Linked DNA regions of Homo sapiens: all the other regions are linked to region 2. The links are contacts of gene promoters, found by promoter capture Hi-C in blood cells and fetal thymus (Javierre and others, 2016). All regions are on one chromosome and are shown on one strand. The core of a region is centred on a gene start or on the middle of the fragment in contact, and the rest is flanking DNA. Distances in the headings are between cores, read along the strand shown.

The links. Contacts are between HindIII fragments. The CHiCAGO score rates a contact against its expected background, and 5 or more counts as called.
Region 1: a contact is called between a fragment that was not itself captured here and the fragment with the promoter of SP140 in region 2, in 1 of 17 cell types (activated CD4 T cells). The highest score is 5.5, in activated CD4 T cells.
Region 3: a fragment that was not itself captured here is called in contact with the fragment with the promoter of SP140 in region 2 in 5 of 17 cell types (activated CD4 T cells, non-activated CD4 T cells, naive CD8 T cells and 2 more); the score reaches 9.9 in activated CD4 T cells.
Region 4: a contact is called between a fragment that was not itself captured here and the fragment with the promoter of SP140 in region 2, in 1 of 17 cell types (naive CD4 T cells). The highest score is 5.2, in naive CD4 T cells.
Region 5: a fragment that was not itself captured here is called in contact with the fragment with the promoter of SP140 in region 2 in 5 of 17 cell types (neutrophils, activated CD4 T cells, non-activated CD4 T cells and 2 more); the score reaches 8.9 in neutrophils.

Annotation. Positions count from the first base shown.
Region 1 is chr2:230,865,738-230,868,437 of GRCh38, reverse strand. The region is part of intron 1 of ITM2C (integral membrane protein 2C); the gene reads right to left. Among named protein-coding and RNA genes, the nearest start is that of ITM2C, 2.1 kb to the right of the region's middle. RefSeq lists a silencer at 2,297-2,396 and an enhancer at 2,180-2,700. The HindIII fragment of the contact is 942 bases long and covers 881-1,822 here.
Region 2 is chr2:230,224,418-230,227,117 of GRCh38, reverse strand. It overlaps SP140 (SP140 nuclear body protein), which reads right to left and starts at 1,382. Exons shown (of 27, transcript NM_007237.5): 1 at 1,215-1,382. The coding sequence starts at 1,273. It also overlaps a transcript of SP110 not described here. RefSeq lists enhancers at 793-842, 863-942, 1,013-1,062, 1,293-1,502. The HindIII fragment of the contact is 6,572 bases long and covers 1-2,700 here.
Region 3 is chr2:230,776,432-230,779,131 of GRCh38, reverse strand. The region is part of intron 2 of CAB39 (calcium binding protein 39); the gene reads right to left. Among named protein-coding and RNA genes, the nearest start is that of CAB39, 65 kb to the right of the region's middle. The HindIII fragment of the contact is 3,089 bases long and covers 1-2,700 here.
Region 4 is chr2:230,819,060-230,821,759 of GRCh38, reverse strand. It overlaps CAB39 (calcium binding protein 39), which reads right to left. Exons shown (of 9, transcript NM_016289.4): 9 at 685-2,700. Among named protein-coding and RNA genes, the nearest start is that of ITM2C, 45 kb to the left of the region's middle. The HindIII fragment of the contact is 3,617 bases long and covers 1-2,700 here.
Region 5 is chr2:230,757,826-230,760,525 of GRCh38, reverse strand. CAB39 (calcium binding protein 39) reads right to left here. Exons shown (of 9, transcript NM_016289.4): 2 at 411-567. The coding sequence starts at 524. Among named protein-coding and RNA genes, the nearest start is that of CAB39, 46 kb to the right of the region's middle. RefSeq lists an enhancer at 1,507-1,606. The HindIII fragment of the contact is 5,262 bases long and covers 1-2,700 here.

The DNA of each region.
Region 1 (2,700 bases), core at 102-2,601, 640 kb before region 2:
AGAAGGGGCAGGCTAAGAGGGGCATGGCCAGCCAGTGGGCCCCCAAAGGGGAGGAGGGATCCAGTTGGCGCTGGGAGGGAGTGCTTTGCTGTCCCAGGGGGTGCTTCCGGTCCAGCCCACTTCCCAAGCTGGCAGTGTCCCAGCTCCTCATTATCTCAGAGTCAAAACACCAGGGGGGGAGGCCGGGCAGCTGGAAGCCCAGCTGGCCCCCACCCCCATCCCTCCCTGGCCCACTGAGGCACTTCCTTCCAGTCTCAGGTCCACAGACAAAATCCTCCTTGTGTTGCAGTTTTTGCTCAGAAGCAGGGGCAGTGCCCACCGAGAGGGTGCTCCTGCCGCCTCACCCTGCCCCCACCCCGCCCTCACTCTGGGCCTGGACACAGGTCAAGAACTGCCCCAACGCACAATCATCTGTTCACCGCACAATCATCTGTTCACCGAGTGCTCCTCCTGCGGATCACTTTTTACATCTTGTTTTGGGCCGGGTGTGGTGGCTGACACCTGTAATCCCAACAATTTGGGAGGCTGAGGTGGGAAGATCACCTGAGGTCAGGAATTTGAGACCAGTCTGGCCAACATGGTGAAACCCTGTCTCTACTAAAAATACAAAAATTAGCCGGGCATGGTGGCAGGTGCCTTTATTCCCAGCTACTTGGGAGGCTGAGGCAGGAGAATCACTTGAACCTGGAAGTGAAGGTTGCAATGAGCCAAGATCGTGCCACGGAACTCTAGCCTGGGTAAAAGTGAGACTCTGTCTCAAAAAAAAAAATAAAATAAAATAAAATAGATAAAATAAAATAAATCTTGTTTTGGAGTCCAGTTCAGACACCAAGGAGGGTTCTGGGGTCACTGCCAGCCAGAAGAAACGTTTTAATAAGCTTTCCTGGGCATTCCCAACAGTACGGGACAAAATCTACACGCCCTGCCCTGAGAAAGCAGCCTCCTGGCTGCCATCCCTCGGCTCACAGAGCTACAGCTGAGAAATGGGCCTCCTGCCTGCTCACTGCTGGGGGCAGGAGACGAGGCCTGGCTCCTTGCCAGAAACTGGGTAAGGAGGAAATGTGCGGGTTGGCCAAGTGGGGCAACAGGAGGCCCGCAGAAGTGAACTGTTTCCAAGGCTCCAAATCTAGCAGGTGATGGGCAGAGCCAACTTGCAACACCTAAAGTCCCTCTGCACCACGCCAGGGCCTTGGGAAGCTGTGAAAGTTTACTAACATGCAGTTCTGTCCTAAAGATGCCAGGATTCTAATTCTTTCCCCAGATCGCATAGTCCTAAGCTCCCCCTTGCCAATTAGAGAGGGAGGGGACCCTGCCCAACTGACAAAGTTTGAGGGAGGAGGTACTCAGCAGGCTCAAGGCCATTACAAACAGCACGCAGGAAGATGTTGATATTTCCATTTCATGCTGGGTGAGGGGGAAGAAAGGACGCTCAATTTCAGAGCCTGATGAGAAGCCAGAAGCTAGGATGTCAGTTATGCCCCGAGATGCAGGTCTCTGTCAGACTGCCCAAACCCATGCCATCAGCAGGCTGCGGCTGGAGAATGTGCCGCTCCTGCAAAATCTGGGGGACCTTCTGATGGAGTTGGAATAACACCCTCCCACTGTCTGACCTGGTCCTCCCTCCTCAAATATCTCCAGGAAGAGGTGGCTAGGAAAAGAGATGGGCAAGCGTGCTGCCTCCTGCCCCCATCCCTGCCCCTCCCCAGGCTGAGTGGAGGGCAGCTTCCCTTCCAAAGAAAAGGAGTCTTGAAGAACCCCTTGCAAACTTTTAAAGCTGCAGAACCATCTTCTTCAAATATGGAGCGCCCCCTCCACCTAAGCTTCAGATGAAAAGGGGGGAGCTGCTCTCATGGGGTGCACAGCAACCCCCAACCTCGCCTAGGTGGTTGTTGAACTCTTGTGGCTCTGAGCCACTGGTTGCTGCAGTGACCACCATAAAAGGGCAGGGGGTTCTCAGTCTCCTGGCATTCCTCACTCAGGGTCTCTGCCCAGGCTGACACCCAACTCTGACGGCCCTCTCCGGCGCCCCCTCCTCCAGGGTCCAGGTCATCCTCTGCAGGCCCCTTAATGCCCCAGGCAAGACTGAACCTGAGCCACAAAACCTGGGGAGGGGGCTAGGCGTTCAGGAAGACTCTTCAGAAGCCTGCATCTGGAAGTGGGGAAGCAGTGGACAAAGACTTTCTCAGTCCTGCCTCAATGCGGGGTGGGGAGGCGGGGAGGACATGGGCTTGGTAAGCCACAAGACCGCTGGGGGCGGCGCCCACGTAGACACCTTTGCCAGGCACAATAAAACCTGGCTGGGCCAGCTCTCCCTCCCTCCCTGTCCCTGCCCGCCACGCGTTCTGCCCCCTGCGGGCCCTTCCCGGACACAAGGCACGCAGCTCAGACAGTTTTCCACGGCGGAAATGCCTTCTCTCCCCCCCGGCCAGAGGGAAAGTGGAGGAAGCCGGGGTAGGGGAGGGGGATGACAGGGGTGGGGGAACGCGCACAGAGCCCGGGGACCCAGGATGCAAGGGCACTGGGGCAGTTGGGAGCCCTCCCCGTGGGGTCGGGGGACAGCCCAGCGAGAGGCTGGGAATGGAGAAAAGAGAGGGGAGCAGGGAGGCCCAGACGGCAGGGCGTGGGGTGGGAAGGGGGCACCCGGCCTCGGACCCCCGACGTCCAGAGGCCGCAGCGCCGTCGGTTCTGGCTGATTTCCAT
Region 2 (2,700 bases), core at 133-2,632:
ACAGTCATCCCTTGGTATCCAGGGGGAATTGGTTCCAGGACCCTCCATGGATACCAAAATCCATGGATGCTCAAGTCCCTGATATAAAAGGTGTAGTATTTACATATAACCTATGCACATCCTCCTGTATATTTTAAATCATCTCTAGACTTATAATACCTAATACAATGTAAATGCTATACAAATAGTTATACTGTATTTTAAATTTTTATATTACTTTTTATTGTTGTTATTTATGTTTTTAATTTTTAGAAAATATTTTGCATTCATGGTTGGTTAGATCCATGGATACAGAATCCACAGATAAGAAGAAATGACCGTATTGATGTACTTGTCTTTTTTTTTTTTTTTTTTTGAGATGGAATTTCACTCTTGTTGCCCAGGCTAAAGTGTAATGGTGTGATCTTGGCTCGCCAAAACCTCTGCCTCCCTGGTTCAAGCGATTATCCTGCCTCAGCCTCCTGAGTAGCTGGAATTACAGGCATACACCATGACACCCAGCTAATTTTGTATTTTTAGTAAAGACAGGGTTTCTCCACGTTGGTCAGACTGGTCTCATTGTCTTACATTTTTTAAAGATGATTTCCAGGCTTCTCTGACCAGATATGTAAAAAATACCAGAACAGAAGAATAAAAAAAGCAGAAGCAGCACTCACTCTCTACCTGCTTGCCTTTTTTGTTGGGTCTCATCTGCTTTCACTTCCTCCTACCAAGTATTCAGAGATCCTGAAGTGATTCTAGGGCTAAGAGCCACATAGATGGGCTCAGAGCAGAACCGGTCCCCAACTACACAGCCTGGAAAGTGTGACAACAGACAGGCGTTTGGATTTTAATTCTTCTAAAAAGATCCTTTTTAGACAGAGTTGTCTTTTGGAGTGGGGATAAAGGAGGCCTGGGGGAGAAGAGAGGGTTCAGAGGTCACGGGGAATCATCCAATCCTACACAAAGCCTCAGAACAGGCATGATGTTCAAACAGCTCCAGTCCAGCCATTTGCAGATGTAAGAGAATAGGAAGATGATGTGAGTCACGGCATCCTTGAGTTTCTCCAACAGCCAATCCCTGCAATTTAAAAAATCTGATTGCCTCGTTATTTATTTGTAACTGAATTCTATTGTATACCTGTAGAGTGAAGCTGGGTAGACATTAAATAACAAGTATGAAAGGGAACCCTACCAGAGATGAAGGACAGACGGGAAAGGAGACGATGACCCACCTGAAGTTGAGATTGCTGTCTCCACTTGCCATCTGCCCCTGCTGGCCCTGCTGGGCCATGAGCTTGGCCTAGGATCACACCCGATTCGATTTTCACTGCCCCGTTCCTTCCTGCAGCTCTGAGGTGAAGCTGCCAACTGCCCCTCGGTGCTCAGTCAAAGAGGAAAAGAAAAGTGAAATTGCCTAACTAGCTGACGTGGGTGCACCAACTCTACAGTCCTCCCTCCACCCAATCTCCATGACGTCTCTCAGTCAAGGGAGGAGGAGCAGAGCCAGCCCCACGAGGCCACGGAAGACAGGGTCACTTGTTCCTGCCAAGGAAAGAGGGTGGAAAAGTCATTCAACTCAAGCAGATCAAAGTTGTTTTGAGGTAAGGTGGCATCATGAGGAGGAAGTAAACTCTGTATTTGTCCCCACCCCTTGCTGAGGTGGCTGAGAAGGACAAGTGAAGACCAGACATTTCAAATCTTCAGTCAGGCTCCAGGGCTGGCCATGCACCTTAGTGAGCCTGGGCTGGATGGCTTAGGCCCAGTGTTTGGACATGGGGCCAGGGAGAACTGAAATAGCATGCATTAGAAAGTGGGGGAGATGCTCTTAGCACTCCATGAAAGCAGACAGAGGTAAAAGACAACTCTCTCAACTCCTCCAGCCAAAGGCAAGTGCTGAGGTTGGGCAGAGAAATGAGGTGCAATTCTAAGTTTTCTCAAATATGTGGGCACTTTACAACAGCAGCCAGGGGTGACTGGGAAAAAAATGAGCTTCAACCATTTCACTGAAATCTTGAGGAGAGTGACAGCCTTCTCACTGGATGGGGAAAGGGTTTGGAGCTGAGATTATCTAGACCTTCAAGGACAATATGATACAGGAGGATAGCTGTATTACATTTATGTTTGCACACAATTTTTCATTTATACCCAGCCCTCATTCTGTAAAGGATTTGAAACAATTTACAAAAACACACTATATCAGCATAAAGTCGAGTGATAAACAAATGGAAGCAAAGGGCAAATATAAAAAATATAACCACAGGACTAGAAATCCAGGCAGAAAAATGGGTCAAAGACAGGGGGCTGATGAGAGCCAGGGTATGGGTAGAATCCAGGGCCAGTGACAGAACAGTAGTGAGGATTGAAAAGCCAGAGGCAAAGCAGTATTTTTCCAAAACATGTGCTCCTGAATCCTACTTTTTCTGGTTCATTACACATATGCAAGGAAATTTGCATACATAAGTTTGCAAAATACAGAGTGCAAGAAATTTCTACCCCTTCCACACTTCTGCTTTCTTTCTACCAAAGGAACAAACACCAATCTGGTTGAGACAAACTCTAGAACACTGATGAGGACACCTTTTCCAGTATCTCTCTCTCTCTCCTCTCTCTCTCTCTCTCTGTCCTCTCTCTCCTCTGTCTCCCTCTCTCTCCCTCTCTCTCCCTCCCTCTCCCTCCCTCTCCCTCTCTCTCCCTCCCTCTCCCTCCCTCTTTAAAACA
Region 3 (2,700 bases), core at 181-2,680, 550 kb before region 2:
ATCTTTAATTACATTTAATAATTTTTTAAAGTTAAAATATTTAAGTGTTAGGATCAACTTAAGTAGTAACCAGTATCCCAAAGTTCACACCTAATGCTCACCTCACTAATAACAGTATCAGAAACTAAACTTTCCCTCCCAGGGTGAGGACATAGGTAACTATAGTCACGCACCACATAACGTCTTGGTCAACAGCAGACCACAGAGACAACTGTGGTCCCACAGATACAATACCATATTTTTGCTGTACCTTTTCTATGTTTAGATAAACAAATACTTGCCATTGTGTTCCAACTGCCTACAGTATTCGCTATAGTAACAAGCTACACAGATTTGTAGCCTAGGAGCAACAGGCTGGAAGAAATCGCCTAATGATGCATTTTTTGGAATGTATCCCTGTTGTTAAGTAACGTGTAACAGGACTTCAAATTTTTAAGGATAGAGTCCATAATAACCTCTTCAAGTAGCACTAAGGCTATGAGATTTTTCACTGCCTGCTTTCCCATTAAAAAATAAAACAGGGTGGGAAAATAAGCAATTAGTAAGCTAAACATTAGTACAAATGGCCTTTTCAGAGATCACCAAAACCTCAGGAGGTTTCGTATTAACTCTCTTGACTTAAATCCAATATTCCCACGGTACCTATCAGTGCACTATTTTACTGTCACTAGAGGCAATTGCTGATAAAAAGTAGTGATACAAAAGTACAATTTCAGAAGACTCGAGAAGACAGCTCACATACCCATTAGTGCTTCTATGCAATGTCCTTGAAGTACTCACAGCCCTTACCAACACTCCTCCTCTGGACTCAAGCACTCAGTAGATCCAAACCGGCCTTACGTTAGGAAACAAGGTGACAAGAAGGCTACTTCCACATGAAGGGACAGGACTTTACTTGGTGAGATACAAGACTGGGCTGCCCTCTTCACTGTCCCCAATTTTTAGTAGTTAGTAGCAATTCTAACCTCAATATAGAAAGCACACTTAAAGACAAACATAGTAACATGCTGAAGTATACAAATGGCTAAGTCAGACATTAAAAACCTTACAAAAGATTCTATTTCATAGTAATAGTAACAATCTTAAAAGGATAAAATATTCTTCCTTCTTATCAGAGGCAAAGGCTTTTAGATACGCCACTGGTAGGAAAATAAATTGGTACAACTTTACTGGAGGGCAATTTGGCAAAATGTTATTGAAGAGTTTTAAAAGGTGCAAGGCCTCTGACTCATTTCTGCAACTTCCTGTGAATTATACTTTCAGGAATTTACCCTATGGAAACAGACAAGTACACAAAGGTAAGTACATGCAGTGTTACTTACAACAGCAAAGAATTAGAAGTAAAAGTTATCCCACTGAACTAGTTTAATCATTACGTACCCATAAAATGGAAGAACCACGGCAGGCTTTAAAAATAATTGAGGGCCAGGGGTGGTGGCTCACACCTGTAATCCCAGCACTTTGGGAGGTGGTCAAGGTGGCGATCACTTGAGGTCAGGAGTTCAAGACCAGCCTGGCCAACATGGTGAAACCCCATCTCTATTAAAAATATGAAAATCAGCCAGGTACCTGTAATCCCAGCTACTTGGGAGGCTGAGGCACAAGAATTGCTTGAACCTGGGAGGCAGAAGTTGCAGTGAGCTGAGATTATGCCACTGCACTCCAGCCTGGGTGACAGAGCAAGACTCCATATTTAAAAAAAAAAAAACAAAATTGAGATCTATATGCACATGAAAAGATGTTAAAATTTAAAATTAAAAAAAAAAAAACAAAAAAAACACCAACAGGTTACAGAGCAGCATGACCCCATACTCATTTACTTATCTGCCCCAGAGAGAGGGAGAAAACAAGCTAGAATATGAATGAGAATCCCCACCAAGTTAACAGTAGTCATTTCACGTGGTACTGAATTAAGGATAAACTTAATTTTTTTCTTTATAGTCTTGTATTTTCTGCTTTTTGGGGGAATGAACATACATCATATACATCATTAGAACATGACTTTGTATAGATACAGAAATAAATTAGAATCTATGAAGGAAACAAAGATCTTTCTCGCACACACTCATACACACTTCCCTACTACACAATGTAGAATTCCAATATACTAGTTAGAATAAAGTAAAACTAAAAAAGTGGATGAAAGGCCAGGTGCGGTGGCTCAAGCCTGTAATCTCAGCACTTTAAGAGGCTGAGGCGGGCGGATCATGAGGTCAGGAGATCGAGACCATCCTGGCTAATACGGTGAAACCCCGTCTCAACTAAAAATACAAAAAATTAGCCGGGCGTGGCAGGCGCCTGTAGTCCCAGCTACTGGGGAGGCTGAGGCAGTAGAATGGCATGAACCCAGGAGGTGGAGCTTGCAGTGAGCCGAGATCGTGCCACCGCATGCCAGCCTGGGTGACAGAGCGAGACTCCATCTCGGGGGGGGAAGAAAAAAAGTGGATGAAGTGAGACAGAGCACCTGGAACCATGACCTACTTGTTTCTCCAGAGCAATGAACTAGTGACACTCACAACCACTTGTGTGGATCTCATGGGAATGATGCTGAGTGGAAGAAAGCCCATCTCAAAAGTTTACACACTATATGATTCTATTTATTTAACATTCTTGAAGTAATAAAATGTATAGACTTGGAGAACAGATAAGTGTGATGCAATTGCATAGAGCTATATGCATATCCACACAAACTGTAAAACT
Region 4 (2,700 bases), core at 5-2,504, 590 kb before region 2:
GTGAATCCAGTCCTCAGCCTGGTGATCCTTATAAGTGGCCAAGTCACAAGTTATGACTTAATGGGCCCTTGTCACCTTTGGGGAACTACAACGTACAAGTAGACTGAACTACTTGACAGAAATAACAAATAGGACATTGTTATTCGGATGAAGTGTTTTTGGCAAGAGCATGTCCCTTGCCTTCACTCCAGAGAATAAGATTTCATTTACTGACAGGGGTTAAAGTCGAGGGCAGGGCTGTGAACTAAGGATTACGAGGCACCCTGGAAGGCAGACGAGGGACATTCTTTACGGTGCCAGAGTTCTTGTGCCTGCTTCCACGGTCCCCTCGCCTTCATGATCATTTCACATCAGTAACCTGTGAATACTCCGGGCCGAGTGTTCTAGTTTAGCCTCGCGGTGTTGCTAACAGCGCAAGAGAGGATCTACTCCTCAAACGTTAGGGTCTAAGAAATGGTACCATTAAAAGGTGTGATTTTACTCAGGAAGGGTAAGGAAAACATGAGCACGGGGGCGGTGGGGGGGAAGTGAAGCCCCTGAACAGGGAAAAAGGCAGACAGGAATGGGTGTTAACTGTCCCTCCACTTTCAGTTGGTGATAAAATTCGGGCTTGTGTGTCTCCTGATGAAGCTGTTCACAGTAACACAAATGCAACTGTCTATAACACATCATAAAGACAGACAATGCTGTTTCTCCAAAATTTTATTTTAATTTAAATTACAGGGCCAGCCAGATATTCTGATAAGAAATTCACTTTTCCTTAGGAGAAAGAAAATGCTTTCATGGCATTGTTAACAAATGTATACATCTCCACTTTTTTAAGGGTTAAAAATCACATTAAGTAACTGCCTTATGTAAAATTAAACCTTTATAACACAAAAACCACTTCCAGTATAATAGTCTTGGTAATATGAATATATTAAATGATCATAACTTCAAATGCAACATTTCAAACTTAAATGTTTTCACATTGTTTTGCTTAAAAACAAAACCCACGAAGTCTGAACTACCTTCAGATTCCAATGTAAGAGTAACATGAATGTTGTGTCTGACACGCTGCACCCTCACTTCTTCCACCTAAAAGGCTACGACCTCACTGCCAAAGTGGAAGCTGTTCTAGATGTGTAAGTTCTAAGAATGAGCTTGGCAAGAAGACGTTTCTTCCACTTGGTGTAATCCATGTTTTTACACTAACTCCATACACACAGCACTACACCACAAAGCCAGGACACCACATCACGGCCAAGTCTTCCTTCCTAAACATCCAAGAGATTTTTTTTTCAAGGAGACTAGATTGCCTTATTTCACACAGATTCTGGTAAAGACAGTCTTGAGAAATGCCAATTATGATGTAGACTGCCATTTTAATAAAAATAAAATATATCTATATTTTCTGGAGCTATTTTCCTAACTGGTGTTCCTGAAGGTTTAAAACCTGCTGAAACAGCAATTGGGAGGCCCATTTTACTGGCCAGTATATAATTCCATTAGTAAGAGAGGCTAGCAAAGAATAATCATATCAATTTCTTAATCAGCTGCAGCCATGCTGAATTTGAACTGGCAAACTCTGATTTGTCAGTTGTTAGTTGTGATCTTCATATCACTAAAATGAACAGATACCATTCTAATAACTTTACATAGATATAGTCTAGAAGACATTGTTCTGCCGTGGTCACAGTAACAAAAAAGTGGTGCAAAATCAGTTACTTTATAAATACTGATAATTTGCAGCATTAAGGAACAGGACATTAAAAAAAATAAATTTCCCCATAGGACACCTATGACTAGGAAGTCGTCTTTTCCTAAGAGAAGCCAAAGTTTTAATTATTCAGTTCACAACTATTGTACTGGGTTACTTAGTCTAAGAAAGAAAAGGTGCTCTACAGAGATTTCCCACACACACAAAGAATCAGCATTAATTTAGCATAATCTCTATCATTCACAGATCTGGCAGATTCATTAACTCATTTAAAATGAATAAGGCCAATAGGATGCAGGAAGGTGTGGCTGACTGAGCTCCAGGGCTGTATCGCAGCTTATTGATGGCACCCCATTAGGTAACTGAATACAAAGGACTGGTTTACTTTCTTTTTCTTTTAATGCTGTGATACTTAAATGTTAAATCAGCATTTTCATGTGATCTGAAGTATTTCAATTACATATGAGCATTCATTGTTTTTTGCAAAAACTCAGTATTAGGTAATAGTTACATACTACTACAATAACATTCCTCTGCTGTACAAATTAAACCATTTAAAAGAAATGAGCATTCTAAGAATTATATACAAAAGAAACCTTGAAGCAGTGTTGAAATGAAATGCAAGGTGTCATTGCTAGCTCTACTGTTTTAAAGTATCTTTGAAAAGTAAAATTAACAAATACCCTTCAACATATCCAGGTTTACAAGTCTCAAGAAAATCAAATGTCAAAAAATTCTAGAAAGCTGTGAAAAGCATATATACATTTTCCTTATGATCTTATGAGGCTTCTTTACACTTTTAAGAAGTTGCTAAGTTTCAGTATCAATTTATTCGCATGTCAACTTTAGCTGCCCCCAAACTCCCATTTTGGATAGCTCCCCTCTGATTTCAGATAAAGCTCTGCGTCATCTTCCTTCAGCGAAGGTGCGCGACCTGAAGGTGCGCGATCTGACGCAGGGATGCCAGGTGTGCACTTGCCACACTGCACTCAGATCGCCAA
Region 5 (2,700 bases), core at 182-2,681, 530 kb before region 2:
AAACAAACCAACCAAGCAGATAACTGATAACTGTAATCCTAGCACTTTGGGAGGCAGAGGCGGAAAGATCGCTTGAGGCTTGGCGTTTGAGACTAGCCTGGGCAACATAGCACAACCCTGTCTCTACAAAAATAATTAGTAATAATAAATAAATAAATTAGAATCAAACACTTCAAGATGAAATAAACACAATTTAAATAAACTCGAAAACCTGACAGAACAGTTAGAAATCTATTTGTTAGACGAAAATACAGAAGAAAAAGTATGTTGCAACAGCAGCATATGTTGCTTTTGGATGTTATTTTTAAAATCCAAAATAAACCCAAATTGGGACTTACTGATTCCTCATATAAGGTGTCTTGCATTTGCTAATTAAGATATTTCAAATATAAATAAAGCCAAATCCATACCTTTTCTGCTTTTTTATCAGAAATGTCTTGCTTTTCCAGAACAGCCATGCTCTCCTTCAGATTCTTCACAATGTCTGCTGGAGATTTGTGAGACTTCCCAAACGGGAACGGCATGACGGCAGCGGCAGGGGCCTCCGCTGCACTCCGCCTGTGCTACCTAGAACACAGCACAAGGTTCATGTGAGCAAACACTGGGATCAACGGAAGACAGACTTTCTAAATCCTAATCTGGGAAGAAAACCCGTGTTTAGGCAAGTCATTTTACATAACTTTCAAAATCAGTAGGAACAGGGAAATCCACAAATATATGCAAGAAATGATAATACACAGATGTCTTAGAATTACAGAACACTGTATTTTTCAAAACACTTTGTTTTTCTTTCCTTCAAATCAATTGCTCTCCTAACCACGCAAATGGGGACGAACATGCTGACTGATGCTGCTGAGGTAGAGAGCAGCAGCTCCCACTCACAGGGCAACTGCTACTGCCAGGCCTGATGCTGAGCACTAGAACTCATCATTTCATGAAACCCTTTCTAACAATCTCCTGCTCCTATTTACTGGTGAAGTTTAGCAAGGTTGAGCGTGAGGCTCAAGGTACTAAGTGGTCAAACAAGCTCAGATCTGTCTTGATCCAAAGCGTCCTTAATCACCACACTGTACATCAAATTGATAGTATCTATTTTACAGCTGAGGCAACTGAGGCAAAAAGTTAGGTAGGGTGTTTAGCCAAACAGCACTAGCAACAGCCTACTATCTAGGTCTCTCCAGATGCTCTTTTCCCGGTGTTCACGCTGCTCCTCCTAAGCACCCCAGTGGGCTGCCCTGAATATGGCACACACTTCCTCGGCACACCCATCTTATTCAGGCAGTCACAGGGTCTCAGAGCTAGAGAGAAGCCTGGACAGGGGAATAAAATCTCCCATTAGATCCTGTAATCCCCTATGTGACAGTTGTCAAGATGTACTCTTTTTGCCTGGATTTGACCATCTCCTATGAAAGAACTCGCTGGATAAAACCCTGAGGATGATGAACTTCTAGAAGTTCTTAATTTTTTGTGGGTAGTAGAAAACAACATTTCAACCACATAAACCACAGTATTACATCATCCAAAAGGAGAACATGCAACTATTCCAAGAAGGCACTATGAAGAAACAAAGTTAACAAGACAAACAATGGAAGTGACTTGGGAACATGTTGGAAGTTACCATTTTTCAGTAAAAAAACTAGAAGTAGTTAAATTCACAGGCACTAAACAGTCTCCTATCAGACACCGAAAGATGACACTTTTTAGAAAAACCTTATGGATCACTTAGATCAGTGGTTTTCTGACTGTAAGTTTCAACATCCTATATTTAACTGCCCAAGGTGCTCCCCACACACACCCAAGAAAAGGTGGCTCTCAGACACCCCAACCCCACTTTGTTTTCCCCTTCTATATAAACACAAAAATACATCCATTGCATAGTATCATAACACTTCTTTTGAGCTTTACCTAAGATTTGATGAACAAACTTGAGTGTTTTTCCCTTAAGTTTGAAATAGAGTGACTTACATATTTGTTTATAAAGAATGTTTAAAACATGCAAATGAATGCTAATGTCAAGCCTACAACTAAATCATAAACAAGTATGTTATTTCTCAACATGTTCTGATGTGAACTGTTCCAACCAATCTCTAACCCCAAATATTGCCTATCTTACCTTCTGTCACCTTGTAAATCCTTTTTTGACAAAATTAACCAAAGAGAAATAGTTTAATGCATATCCTTTGTCATAGGTTCTTAAATATCCAAGGATTTTTTTTTTTTTTTTTTTTGGAGTCTCGCTGTGTCACCCAGGTTGGAGTGCAGCAGCGCAATCTTGGCTCACTGTAATCTCCACCTCCCAGGTTCAAGTGATTCTTGTGCCTCAGCGTTAGCCTCCCAAGTAGCTGGGACTATAGGTGTGCACCACCAACCCAGCTAATTTTTGTATTTTTAGTAGAGATGGGTTTTCACCATGTTGGCTAGGCTGGTCTCAACTCCTGGCCTCAAGGGAGCCACCCACCTCGGCCTCCCAAAGTGCTGGGATTACAGGTGTGAGCCATCATGCCCAGCCATAAAATCCAAGGATCTTTAAGTCCACTTCTAAATAACTTTTCTATGCCTAAAAGTTTGAACTGACGTTAGGGGAGTCACTCTTAACTAGCTGTCATATGATCGCTCTACAAGCCAGATGGGACACAAAGCCTGGATCATTCTTTTCCTTTTCCTGGATCATTACTTTTTCCTTTGGGCAGGGGAGTGGGC